Linked DNA regions of Homo sapiens: region 2 is linked to region 1. The links are contacts of gene promoters, found by promoter capture Hi-C in human tissues and cell types (Jung and others, 2019). All regions are on one chromosome and are shown on one strand. Each heading gives the region's core, a stretch centred on a gene start or on the middle of the fragment in contact. The rest is flanking DNA. Distances are from core to core; before and after follow the strand shown.

Region 1 (5,694 bases), core at 1,208-3,707:
CGGCTGTGCTGGTGGCCGGGGGCCGGGGGGGCAGGGGCAGGCAGCGCAGGTTCCCGGTCTTGAGCGCGCACTGCACCGGCCAGAGTGCCACACAGAAGAGCATCAGCAGCAGGGCAGAGACCAGTGCCATGCGCCTCCAGTCCCTGCAGCGCGCCCAGCAGCGGGCCAGGCGGCCCCGGCGGGGGGCAGGGTCCCGGGCGGGCGCGGGCGGCTCGGCAGGCTTGCTCAAACCCACGTCCACGCATACGAAACCGGGCTCGCGGCCAGGTGTGGTGGGCAGTGGCTGGCAGCACAGCTTGGTGCCCTCCAGCCACACAGGCTCCTCACGCCGCAAATGCGCCGGCATCCGGGCCTGCAGCTGGCGGCTGGTGCACAGCGCGGGGGCTCCGGCGGGCGGCACGGCCGTGGGCTGCCTGCAGAAGGGGCAAGGTACAGCCTCACCACCGGGGCGGCCCACAGGCTGAGCAGCCGCCAGCCGGGCCAGGCACTCCAGGCAGAAGACGTGGGTGCAGGAGAGCTCCTTGGGTGTCTTGAAGATGTTGTCATAGCCTGAGAAACAGATGGAGCACTCCAGGGGGGAGGCCACCCTCTCCGAGCCAGGGGTGCCAGGGGACCTGGGGCTGCCGGCCGAGCTGGGGGACCTGGGCATCGAGGCTATGGAGCTGCTCCGGCGAGGGGGTGGCACAGCCGTGTGCCACACCTGCTGGCCTGACGACATGTCTCTGAGCTGTGGGACAGGGACTGTGGTAAGCAATCACCGGCCGCCCCTTTCTGGTGGTGTTTTATCTCTCCCTCCCCTCTCTCGCCCCAGAGATCCCAGGGAAGGACTCTGTTTCCTGCGCGCCACTCCAGAAAGTTCCTCCGGTGCCCCTGGAGGTCATTCTGCCCCACGTGCAATCCTGTCCTCTCCACCCCATCACATGGCTGCACCGGGGTGAGCCTCCCACAGGGCCCCAGGCCTGCTCCGGGAATGCAGGCCGTGTGTAGGGGGGTCTCACTGACCGCTCGGCAGACACCTCCTGTTGGCCCTGCCCCACCTGGCTGGCCCTGCTGCCCGGGCAGAAATAATGGTGAGGATGACAATAGCCACAGTCGTCACTGTTTATGTCGGAGCTCTGCAAGGCTGGGCCCACATCACGGGACTCACACAACGCCACAGTGTGGAAAAGGCCGCCCAGAGCATGGGTGACTCGGCCAGGGCCACCCCAAGGGAGCTGGCGGGCCCTGGACCCTGGCAGATACGGCTCTCAGGCAGGCCAGGGACTCCAAGTCAAGTGAAGTGAGTTTGAACTCAGATCCCAGGATGGGTGCCTGGCTTGGGCGGTGCAGGCCTGATTTGTAGGCAGCTATGTGAGGGTGGGGTGTGGGGGTCTCTGGGTCTGGGGACCGGGCTGAGCCCCGGGGGCTTTGGGACGACAGGGAGGGCCCAGGCAGGGGCAGGGGTCAGTGCCCGAGGAAGGTGCACGTCAGGCACGACCTGCGGCCTGCGGGGCCGGCTTGTCTAGCTGCTGAGGGTCTGATGTGCACAGTGTGGGGGTGGGACTTGGATAAGCCCAGCCATTCCCTCTGGGCCAGCCCACTGCCTCATGGTCAGGTGATGGTCAGGGCACCCTCAGCCGCCCACTGAGTGGGTGTTTCTTCTCCCTGACCCAATCCCACTTCATGGCAGGGACCCTGGGGGACGGACACTGGGGGATGCTGCTCTGCCCCTGGGCATGGCTCAGGTGGGCATCTCAGCTGACCTGGGACCCTGCTCCACCTCCCGCCCCTCCCCTGCACCCAGGATCCGCTGCAGGGAGCCACAGGGGTCCCACCTGGAGGGAAGTGGGCAAGGGTGACAGTGAGACTCAAGGGCCTGGCCGTGCGTCCCCGTGGGGCCCAGGAGGCTGCCCCAGAAGTGACTCCTGGCACTGCCCCGCCCCACCCCTGACTTGCCAGTGAGTCCCAGACAGGCTGGCGGGATGACACAGGTCACTGTGACCACCTGAGTCACACGCCGTCACTGTGAGGCCGTGAGTGCCCCAGGCACCGGGACCTGGGGACTGTGCTCTGCGGCCTGTGTACCCCACAGAACCGGTTCCTTGGCACGAGGCCCCACCCCTCCACGATGGTGCCCCACCCTGAGCCTGTGCAGGTAAGGGGTGAACACGGGCTGAGCTGGCCTTACCTGGTGGCCGGGGGTCAGCGGGCCTGGGCGTGGTCCTCCTCGCCGGCCACGGTTGGGCTCCAAGGCCCTGGGCTGCCCTGCCGTGGCAGTGTCTGCTTCCTCTTCTCCGGGCCCGGCCCGGCCTGTGCTTCACCCAGCAGGTATCCCTCCCCGGGGCCGGCCACCAGCAGCTGTCCCGGTGGCACTGGTCTGGCAGGTGTGGCTTCTGCTCTGTCCAAGACAGGCGGGGACACAAGGAATGCGTGCGCCGTCACCCGCACAGAGCTCTGGTCTGAGGCAGGTGTGAGTTGCTGGGTGTGGGCTCCCAAGCAGGTCTATTTATACCCTATGGGCCAAGGGTGTGGCCGCAAGCCTCAGGGATTGGCTGGCTTCATCCTCTCCTTGGCGGGCCAGGCAGCTGGAGGGCAGGGAGGGAGGGGTGAGGGTCGGAGCCGGGTAGGGGTCAGCACAGCCGCTGCAGCCTGGGCAGGTCTGGGCTGGGGTGTGTGCTTGGACAAAGCCCTCTCTCCCTATAGCCCCAGGAGGCTGGAGCACCTGCTGGAAGCTGCTCACCGCAGTTCCAGGTCCCTGTGGCCCCTGAGCTCCTGGGTGGGCCTCCTAGCAGGGGCCCTCCCCGAGCCCCCCACAACCTATGCCCAGCCTGCCCCTGCCCTTTGCTCACTGCTGCCTGCCCTCACAGCCCATTCCTGCCACTTCCCTGCCCACACCCACCCATGTGCTCACCTGCCTCATCCATACACATACGTGGCTGCTCTCACACATGGGCCATGTGTTCACACGCTCTATGCCCCCGTGTCCACAGGCTCTCACACACGTGCCGTGTCCGGAAGCTCACATATGCCATGTCCACACTCACACACGCCGTGTCCACACTCACACGCCGTGTCCACACTCTCACACACATGCCATGTCCACATGCTCTCACACACGTGCCCTGTGTCCACACACACACACATGCCATGTCCACATGCCCTAGCAGACTACAGGACTGGTCTGTGCAAAGACCAGGGCTGGAGCTGGTTGAGAGTCTGGGGGCTGAGGCTGGCAGGGCTGGGATGGAGGATGTGTGGGTCTCAGAGGAGCAGCCAGTGGCATGGGCTGCCCCGTCCCCCGCACACCCCGCTGTGGGCCCGAGGGCCTGGTGTAGAGCTGCACCCCCAGGCTGTCCAGCTGCCAGCTCCCCACCTCACTGAGGCGTCTCTCTCCCAGCCCAGTGGACCTCATGCAAGGGGAGGTCCGACCCGGCTGCCACAGCCCCATCCCCGCCATGAGGCCTGGGCCGGACCTGAGCTGGGACTCCACACACCAGCCTGGGGGGGTGCCACACTGGGTGGGGCTGGGAGTGAGGGACCCACCCTAGTGGGAGAGCTGGCCGGGCCACCCCACAGACTGCCCTCAGGCAACTCCCATGCAGGTGCCCGCCGACCCCTCAGTAGGGACCCAGAGGCTCCCCCAGGGCTGCCGCGGGCATCCTGGAGCCCAAGGGATGCTGGGAAGTGGGAACCAGGACTGCAGAGGCCAGGGGGCAACACCCCGAGGAGGAGCACAGGGACTTGGGCTCAGGAAGGGCCGGACCCCTGCCAGTTCCATGAGGACTCTCAGTCGGGGGTTGGGGGGACCCCTGCCAGTTCCATGAGGACTCTCAGTCAGGGGTTGGGGGGACCCCTGCCAGTTCCATGAGGACTCTCAGTCGGGGGTTAGGGGGGTTCAGAGAGCGGATTTGGGTGCTCAGACAGGGAGGGGTGGATGCTCAGAGAGCGGGGCGCGGGCTGGGGCTGGGCTTTCAGACAGGGAGGGCTGGGGACTCAAGAGCTGGGGAGGGGTGGGAGCTCTGTGAGGGGCTCCGTGCGGGGTGGCTGAGGCTATGGGAACTCTGTGGGGGGAGGCTGAGGCTATGGGGACTCCGTGGGGGGAGGCTGAGGCTATGGGGACTCCGTGCCGGGAGGCTGAGGCTATGGGGACTCCGTGGCGGGAGGCTGAGGCTATGGGGACTCCGTGGGGGGAGGCTGAGGTTATGGGGACTCCGTGCTGGGAGGCTGAGGCTATGGGGACTCCATCGGGGGAGGCTGAGTCTATGGGGACTCCGTGGGGGGAGGCTGAGGCTATGGGGACTCCGTGCCGGGAGGCTGAGGCTATGGGGACTCCGTGGGGCAGGCTGAGGCTACGGTGACTCCGTGCAGGGCTGTGAGGCTACGGGGACTCCGTGGGGGGTGGCTGAGGCTACGGGGACTCCGTGGGGGGAGGCTGAGGCTACGGGGACTCCGTGGGGGGAGGCTGAGGCTACGGGGACTCCGTGGGGGGAGGCTGAGGCTACGGGGACTCCGTGCTGGGAGGCTGAGGCTATGGGGACTCCGTCGGGGGAGGCTGAGTCTATGGGGACTCCGTGGGGGGAGGCTGAGGCTATGGGGACTCCGTGCCGGGAGGCTGAGGCTATGGGGACTCCGTGGGGCAGGCTGAGGCTATGGTGACTCCGTGCAGGGCTGTGAGGCTACGGGGACTCCGTGGGGGGTGGCTGAGGCTACGGGGACTCCGTGGGGGGAGGCTGAGGCTACGGGGACTCCGTGGGGGGAGGCTGAGGCTACGGGGACTCCGTGGGGGGAGGCTGAGGCTACGGGGACTCCGTGGGGGGAGGCTGAGGCTACGGGGACTCCGTGGGGGGAGGCTGAGGCTACGGGGACTCCGTGGGGGGAGGCTGAGGCTACGGGGACTCCGTGGGGGGAGGCTGAGGCTACGGGGACTCCGTGGGGGGAGGCTGAGGCTACGGGGACTCCGTGGGGGGAGGCTGAGGCTACGGGGACTCCGTGGGGGGAGGCTGAGGCTACGGGGACTCCGTGGGGGGAGGCTGAGGCTACGGGGACTCCGTGGGGGGAGGCTGAGGCTACGGGGACTCCGTGGGGGGAGGCTGAGGCTACGGGGACTCCGTGGGGGGAGGCTGAGGCTACGGGGACTCCGTGGGGGGAGGCTGAGGCTACGGGGACTCCGTGGGGGGAGGCTGAGGCTACGGGGACTCCGTGGGGGGAGGCTGAGGCTACGGGGACTCCGTGGGGGGAGGCTGAGGCTACGGGGACTCCGTGCCGGGAGGCTGAGGCTACGGGGACTCCGTGCGGGGAGGCTGAGTCTACGGGGACTCCGTGAGGGGTGGCTGAGTCTATGGGGACTCCGTGCGGGGAGGCTGAGTCTATGGGGACTCCGTGCGGGGTGGCTGAGGCTATGGGGACTCCGTGCCGGGAGGCTGAGGCTATGGGGACTCCGTGCCGGGAGGCTGAGTCTATGGGGACTCCGTGCCGGGAGGCTGAGTCTATGGGGACTCTGTGCCGGGAGGCTGAGGCTACGGGGACTCCGTGCCGGGAGGCTGAGGCTACGGGGACTCCGTGGGGGGAGGCTGAGGCTACGGGGACTCCGTGGGGGGAGGCTGAGGCTACGGGGACTCCGTGGGGGGAGGCTGAGGCTATGGGGACTCCGTGGGGGGAGGCTGAGGCTATGGGGACTCCGTGGGGGGAGGCTGAGTCTATGGGGACTCCGTGCCG
Region 2 (5,694 bases), core at 1,671-4,170, 130 kb after region 1:
CGCGGCCGCCGAACTGCATGGTCCAGGGCGCTGGTCACTGCCACCTTCCTGCACCCACTTCTGCTGCCAGGGGAGCAGGGCCCGGCCCAGAGCAGAACGCAGAGCCCCTGCGGCCTGGGGAGCTCCTGGGGAGGGGCTGGCTGCGGTCGGTGGCCCCGGAGGACGGCCAGGCTCACACCCACAGGTCTCCCAGCCGCCCCTTCTCCTCTGCCGATCGCTCGCCCCGCTCTTCCTCGGGGAACTGGCAGCTTCTGGCGTCTTCGGTCGACGGCGGCACCTCCAGCAGCAGCTGGGTCTCTGCAGGGGGGCCACGGTCAGCAGGCAGCCATGCTCCCACCTCCCCGCACCAGGCTGTGACAGACCTCGGGGCCACATGCACTGACTCCTCAGCTGCCAGATGTGCAGTCCAAGCTGGGCCGAGGTCAGGAGGAGGACGCAGGCGGCCACGGCCAGGAGGACGACGGTCAGCCACCCAAGCGGCTCTGCCGGCGGGGACCCTGGGACGCACACAGCGTTGTGGGTCTTGTTCCCAGGGAACACAGTGAGAAACCCGAACTGGGTGCAGCTGGAATACATGGACGCGGCCTCCTATCAGCCCCCGGACACGGCCTCCGATCAGCCCCCGGCTGCTGCCCTCCGTGCTGTCTGGGGCAAGGGACAGGAGAGGACCCTTCCTCAGAGTGGGCCTGGACCACCCGGCCACCGGCAGGGCCCACCCAGGACTCACTCTGTCCAAGGTTTGCAGTGGCCTTCGTGGCCCCCGGAGAAGGTCCCCGAGGCACAGTCGATACACTGGAAGCCAAAACTGAATTTCCCTGGTGTGGGGTGTGGGGGGAGGGAGGGAGGGAGGCTGGTGGAGTTGCTGGGATGGATGAGGAGGGCGTCAGGCCAGTGCAGGGGTCCATCTGGGGTCTGGGTGCTGAGTAGAATGCCCCCCCCATCATCCATTCAACAGAGTTCTTCATGGCCCAGGACTGGGGCCCATGTCTGCCCGTCCCAGGTGGGGCGTCTGGGGTGGGGCCCAGTGAGGGCACCTGGGGGAGGTGCGCAGAGTGCAGTGGGCCTGCCAGGGAGGGGAAAGGCCTGCCCATTGGGGGCTGAGGGTGGGCAGAAGCCAGGCAGGACCCAGTAGAACAGAGGGTGGAGAACAGTGAGGGTCCCAGAGAGAGTGAGGCTGGGTCCCAGTTGACCCCAGACCCTGCCCCGTCCAACCTGACACAACCTCCCCAGTTGTACCTTCTCCCAGCTCTCATGTGCCCAGCCTGACCTCTCCTGTCAGGTAAACAAGCCGCTAAGAGGACTTGAGCTGCTCCTTCCAGAACAGGGTGCAGCCCCAGGCCCCAGACAGGACTCCGGGGGGCACAGGGCAGGCTCTTTCAGTATGTGGTGAGGACAGACAGGATGGGTGTCCCGGGCCTGAGAGCCAGACAGCTCCTGGAACCCGCCCCCACCTCCCCGCAGGGTTCTCACAGCCCTCGTGCTGGATGGAGAAGCCCAGGCTGAGAAAGCAGGGACAGGACACCCCCAGAGCTTCATGGCCTGTGGTGCCTGAGCATGGCCTGGCCTGCCCGGCCTCACAGGACTCCGGACCCCACACACCACATGTCCTCGCCGGACACCTGTGCCCACGAGCTCTGCCTCGGGCCCTAGTGGAACCCCTGGCCTGTGTGGACTCCCAGAGGCACCTCCAGGACTTACCCTGGGACTGTACCCCCTGGCCTGGGGGACAAGGGTGGTGCCGGCAGGTCGTGCAGCAAGGGTCTCCGCAGTGGAATTCAGGCTGGACACACATGCAGTCCCACTCGGAACAGCACTCCTCGCCTGGGCAGGAGACAGGCCAGCCCCCCAGCAGCTGGGCTGAGGCCCCCTCCTCCCCAGGCCTCCCCTCGGCCCTCCAGGGGAGTGAGGTTGTCCGTTCTCCACCCACAGTTGGCTCCAGGGAGCAGAGGGCTCCTGGCTGGGAGTCTGGACCCTGGGTTTATCCAGCTGTCTCTTTCTCCTGGGGCCATGTGGCCTGGCTACTCCCCCTTTGCGCCCCACAGCTGCCCCTGCCCAGGTGCTAACTCCATATGCAACCAGGAGCTGCCCCTGCAGGACCCAGGGGTGGCCCCCAACAGTGCACAGTCCCCTGGAGGCCCGTCGACACCTCAGAGGCCGCCTGCCTGGTGTCTGGGCGCTGCTGTCCCCACCACCAGCCACACTGGGCCTCCGGACAGAGCCTCCCTTCCCAACCCACAGGCCCTGGAGGAAGAAGCTCTGGGGTGACTTCCCTGCCAGCTTCCTCTCCAGACCAGCCGTGTCAGCTGAACCCTCATCCCCAGGTGCAGGTCAGAGGCAGGCAGCAGGCCAGACGGTGGTGCAGGGGGGCCCTCAACTGGGCAGGAGGGGGCTGGGCGATGGCCAAGGGCTCACGACCCGCCCAGCAGGACCTGGAACAGCCGTCCTCCACCTCCAGACCCCAGACCCCTCTTGAGGGCGCTCCCACCTGGCTCACCCCTGCTCCCGGCCGGGGCCACTGGCTGGAGCTGGCACACCTCCGCCTCCCTCTGGGATCCTGCCTCCCTCCGGAAGGCTCCCGCTGCTGGCGGCTCTGTGCCCACCCTCCTTAGACCTCAGCAACGCCGGTCTGAGCACGGGAAGGGGGGCGCCCACCCATCCCGGCTTCCGCGGGACGCCTTGGCCGGTCCGCGTTAAGTAAACGCGGTTTACTTACCCGGGTAATCGCGGCAGCAGCGCGTCGTGTGAACCCGGCAGCAGCGCGCGTCCGTTCCCGTCCCAAGCAGGAGGCGCCCAGGGCCGCACCCGGGACCCCCGGTGGGGCGCTGACCCAGGCTGAGCGCGCACAGCAGCGCCAGGCCGCACAGGGCCCGAAACGCGCCCATCGCCCCGTGCTGTGCCATGCTCGGGTTTCAAGAGCCCACAGCCAGTTGGACACGCCCCGTCCCCGTCCTCACCCGCCCTGCCCGGAGGTGGCTGGGACCGTTCATGACCTGAGAATCCCGACCCAGGTGAAGTGCGTGTGAGGAGGGGGTGTAGACACTGCGGACACAGCCCGGTCCCCCGCAGGTCGCCGGCAGGGGCGGGGAAACCAGGCTGGCGGGGATCAGAAAGGTTTTCTATGCAAAGTCTGCGGCCACATTGGTGTCCCCAGTGCAGGGGGCGGCGTTTATAGCACCTTGTCCCATGGGGGCCCCTTGGAGGGCGGGGGTCAGCCAATCACTCCTCCATCCCACTGCCTCCGGGTGGTATCTGCGAGTCCCCGAGAGGTCTCCACAAATTCTGGCCACCCCCAGAGAGCCTCAACCATGGAGCCCCGTGCTGGGGAACCCCACAGAATGGGGACAGGGACCCCTCGGCTCAGCACACCCCACCTGGCTGGCTTCAGGTGTGAAACTCACCATGGGCTGCAGGCCTGTGGGCTCCCCTCCCCCTTGCTTGCAGCTCTCCAGGACCCCCCTCAGGCCAACCTGGGAAGTTCCCCGGGGCTTGGGAGGGGCACCAGGAGGAGCTGGTGGGGAGACGAGAGGGTGCTGGCGCCTCCTCGGGACAGTGTCAGCCGCCCCCGCGGGCACCCAGGGCCCGGTCTCTCAGAGCCACCTTCATCCGTCACACCAGACAGATCCAGGTCCCGGAGGGAGTTGAGGAGGAGCCCCTCGCAGAGCTCTTGGGAGACTGTCCTATGTCTTTCTGAGCCTCAGTTTCCCCTGTGGGCACCGAGGGGTTCTGGGACCCTGCCTCCACCAGGAAGCCTCCCTGGATTGCCCAGCCCTGCTTCTGCGCCGTCCAGCACAGGTGGAGACCCCCATGAATGCTGGGGGTGGGGGCTCTCGGGAACGTGAGCGTGGATGTGGTTCAACACCCTTTTGAGACCTGCAGCCACCGCCTCACCCCGTAAGGCGGTTCCTCCTTTTCCAAGGTAAATGACAGGAATTAGCTGTTTGTGACACCCCGGAGTTCTCAAATCCAAGATGTAGGAGCCTGCCTTGGAGAGGCAGCCCTCAGACACTGCAGAGAAGGAAGGGGTCTCTGCAGCTCCAGGCCGCCCCGACGCTCGGAAGGAAAGGGGTGGGGCCAGCTGGGCCTGGGGGCCTTTGAGAGGCCTGGAGATCTTCAGCCCCGAGGCTGGGAGGGGGTCTGGGCCCCTGGATAGAAAGAGGCGCCATCAGTGGCTCACGCCCGTAATCCCAGCATTTTGGGAGGCCGAGGTGGGCCTCGGATCACCTGAGGTCAGGGGTTCGAGACCAGCCTGACCCACATGGAGAAAGCCCGTCTCTACTAAAAATACAAAAAAAATTAGCCAGGCGTGGTGGCGCACGCCTGTAATCCCAGCTACTCGGGAGGCTGAGGCAGGAGAATTGCTTGAACCTGGGAGGCAGAGGTTGCGGCGAACCAAGATGGCACCATTGCACTCCAGCCTGGGTGACAGAGCGAGACTCCATCACAAAAAATAAAGAATGCTCATCAGACCACACGGTGTGAGTCATCCATCTAGAGGCAGGGACAGAGTTAGAGGAGCGAGCAGTTTATGGGGCCAAGTGGGAGGCGGCCAGCGGGCAGAGGAGCCCCTCCCCCCCGCCCCGTGGCGCAGCTGACACTTTGAACAGCCGGAGAGCAGCTTGCCACACAGGGTGGTCCCCGGAGGGGCTGCAGGGGTGTGACGTCCACCCTCCCATCCCTCTCGCCGCAGAAGGCCCCTCCCCGGCTCCCCGTGACTCCTATCCTTGGGCTGCGAGGCTGGAGGTGACTTGTTCATCTTATTGAGCAGCTCACCGGTGACACAAATGACGGGGCATTCACACAGCAGAGCAGCCCACGGGCCGGGCGAGGGACAGCCCTTGCGTACGTCCAGAAGGGCAGCTGTGAGGCCCCACGGGGAGGGTGCAGATGGGCACTGAGCCAGAGTTCAGGCAGGGCCTTCGGCACAGATGGCACAGGAGTTGCCAGCAGAGATGGCGTCAGGCGAGGGGGCGGGGAGGGTGAGCATGGAGACCAAGAGGAGGTGGCCCCGTGTCCATCTGGGGGTGCGGCAAGGGGTCCTGCTGGGGAATAAGTCCCACGGGGCCTGGGGGGTGCTGTGCCCAGAGGGGAGGAGACAGGAAGCGATGGGTATGGGCGCCAGGTTTGGGGAGGAGGCCCCTTTCCCATAGCCGTCGACCTGCGGGCCCCACAGGATCTGGCCGCTCCAGTCCCGGCCACCTGACCCCTTCCCCCACCCACCCGCCATCCTGCCTGGAGGTCTGGCCTCGCCTGCCCCACGGGGCGGGGGGCGGGGGGCTCTCAGAGGCGCGGCCCCAACCCTGTGCAGGGCCTGCAGGCTGAACCGTGTGCAGGAACCCGGGGAACTCGGTGAAGGTGCTGGATGGGGGACAGGACGGCCTCTGACTTCCCTATGCTGCGGGGGGGGAGGCTTGTGGTTAGCAGAGAGTGGGTGGAAGACAGAGGTTTGAGGAGAGAGAGACCCAGGGGAGAAAACCAGCTGCAGAGGCAGGAGGGGTCCAGGGCAGCCCGAGGCCAGAGATGGGCGTCTTCCTTACAGCCACCTGTGGTCCCGGCACCTTGGGCTGTTGTGAGTGGCGCGTGGCGCTCCCACTGTGCACCCCCGGGGCCGGTTCCCCACTTCCACGACACCGGCAGGGGGGAGCCATCCGCCAGGCACAGGAGGCCTGGACAGCCGTGGGCAGCGTGCGCTGTTGG

The links. Contacts are between HindIII fragments. The study calls those that stand out against the background at their distance.
Region 2: the fragment with the promoter of TNFRSF18 here is called in contact with the fragment with the promoter of RNF223 in region 1 in 2 of the 25 tissues and cell types used here (IMR-90 fibroblasts and pancreas).

The regions. Positions count from the first base shown.
Region 1 is chr1:1,071,849-1,077,542 of GRCh38, forward strand. RNF223 (ring finger protein 223) reads right to left here and starts at 2,458. Exons shown (of 2, transcript NM_001205252.2): 1 at 2,168-2,458; 2 at 1-727. The coding sequence starts at 718. RefSeq lists an enhancer at 2,151-2,650. The HindIII fragment of the contact is 34,324 bases long and covers 1-5,694 here.
Region 2 is chr1:1,203,672-1,209,365 of GRCh38, forward strand. TNFRSF18 (TNF receptor superfamily member 18) reads right to left here and starts at 2,921. Exons shown (of 5, transcript NM_004195.3): 1 at 2,714-2,921; 2 at 1,699-1,821; 3 at 728-815; 4 at 363-565; 5 at 1-297. The coding sequence starts at 2,900. The coding sequence ends at 173. RefSeq lists silencers at 1,504-1,704, 4,577-4,666, 5,247-5,356 and an enhancer at 4,501-5,380. The HindIII fragment of the contact is 29,019 bases long and covers 1-5,694 here.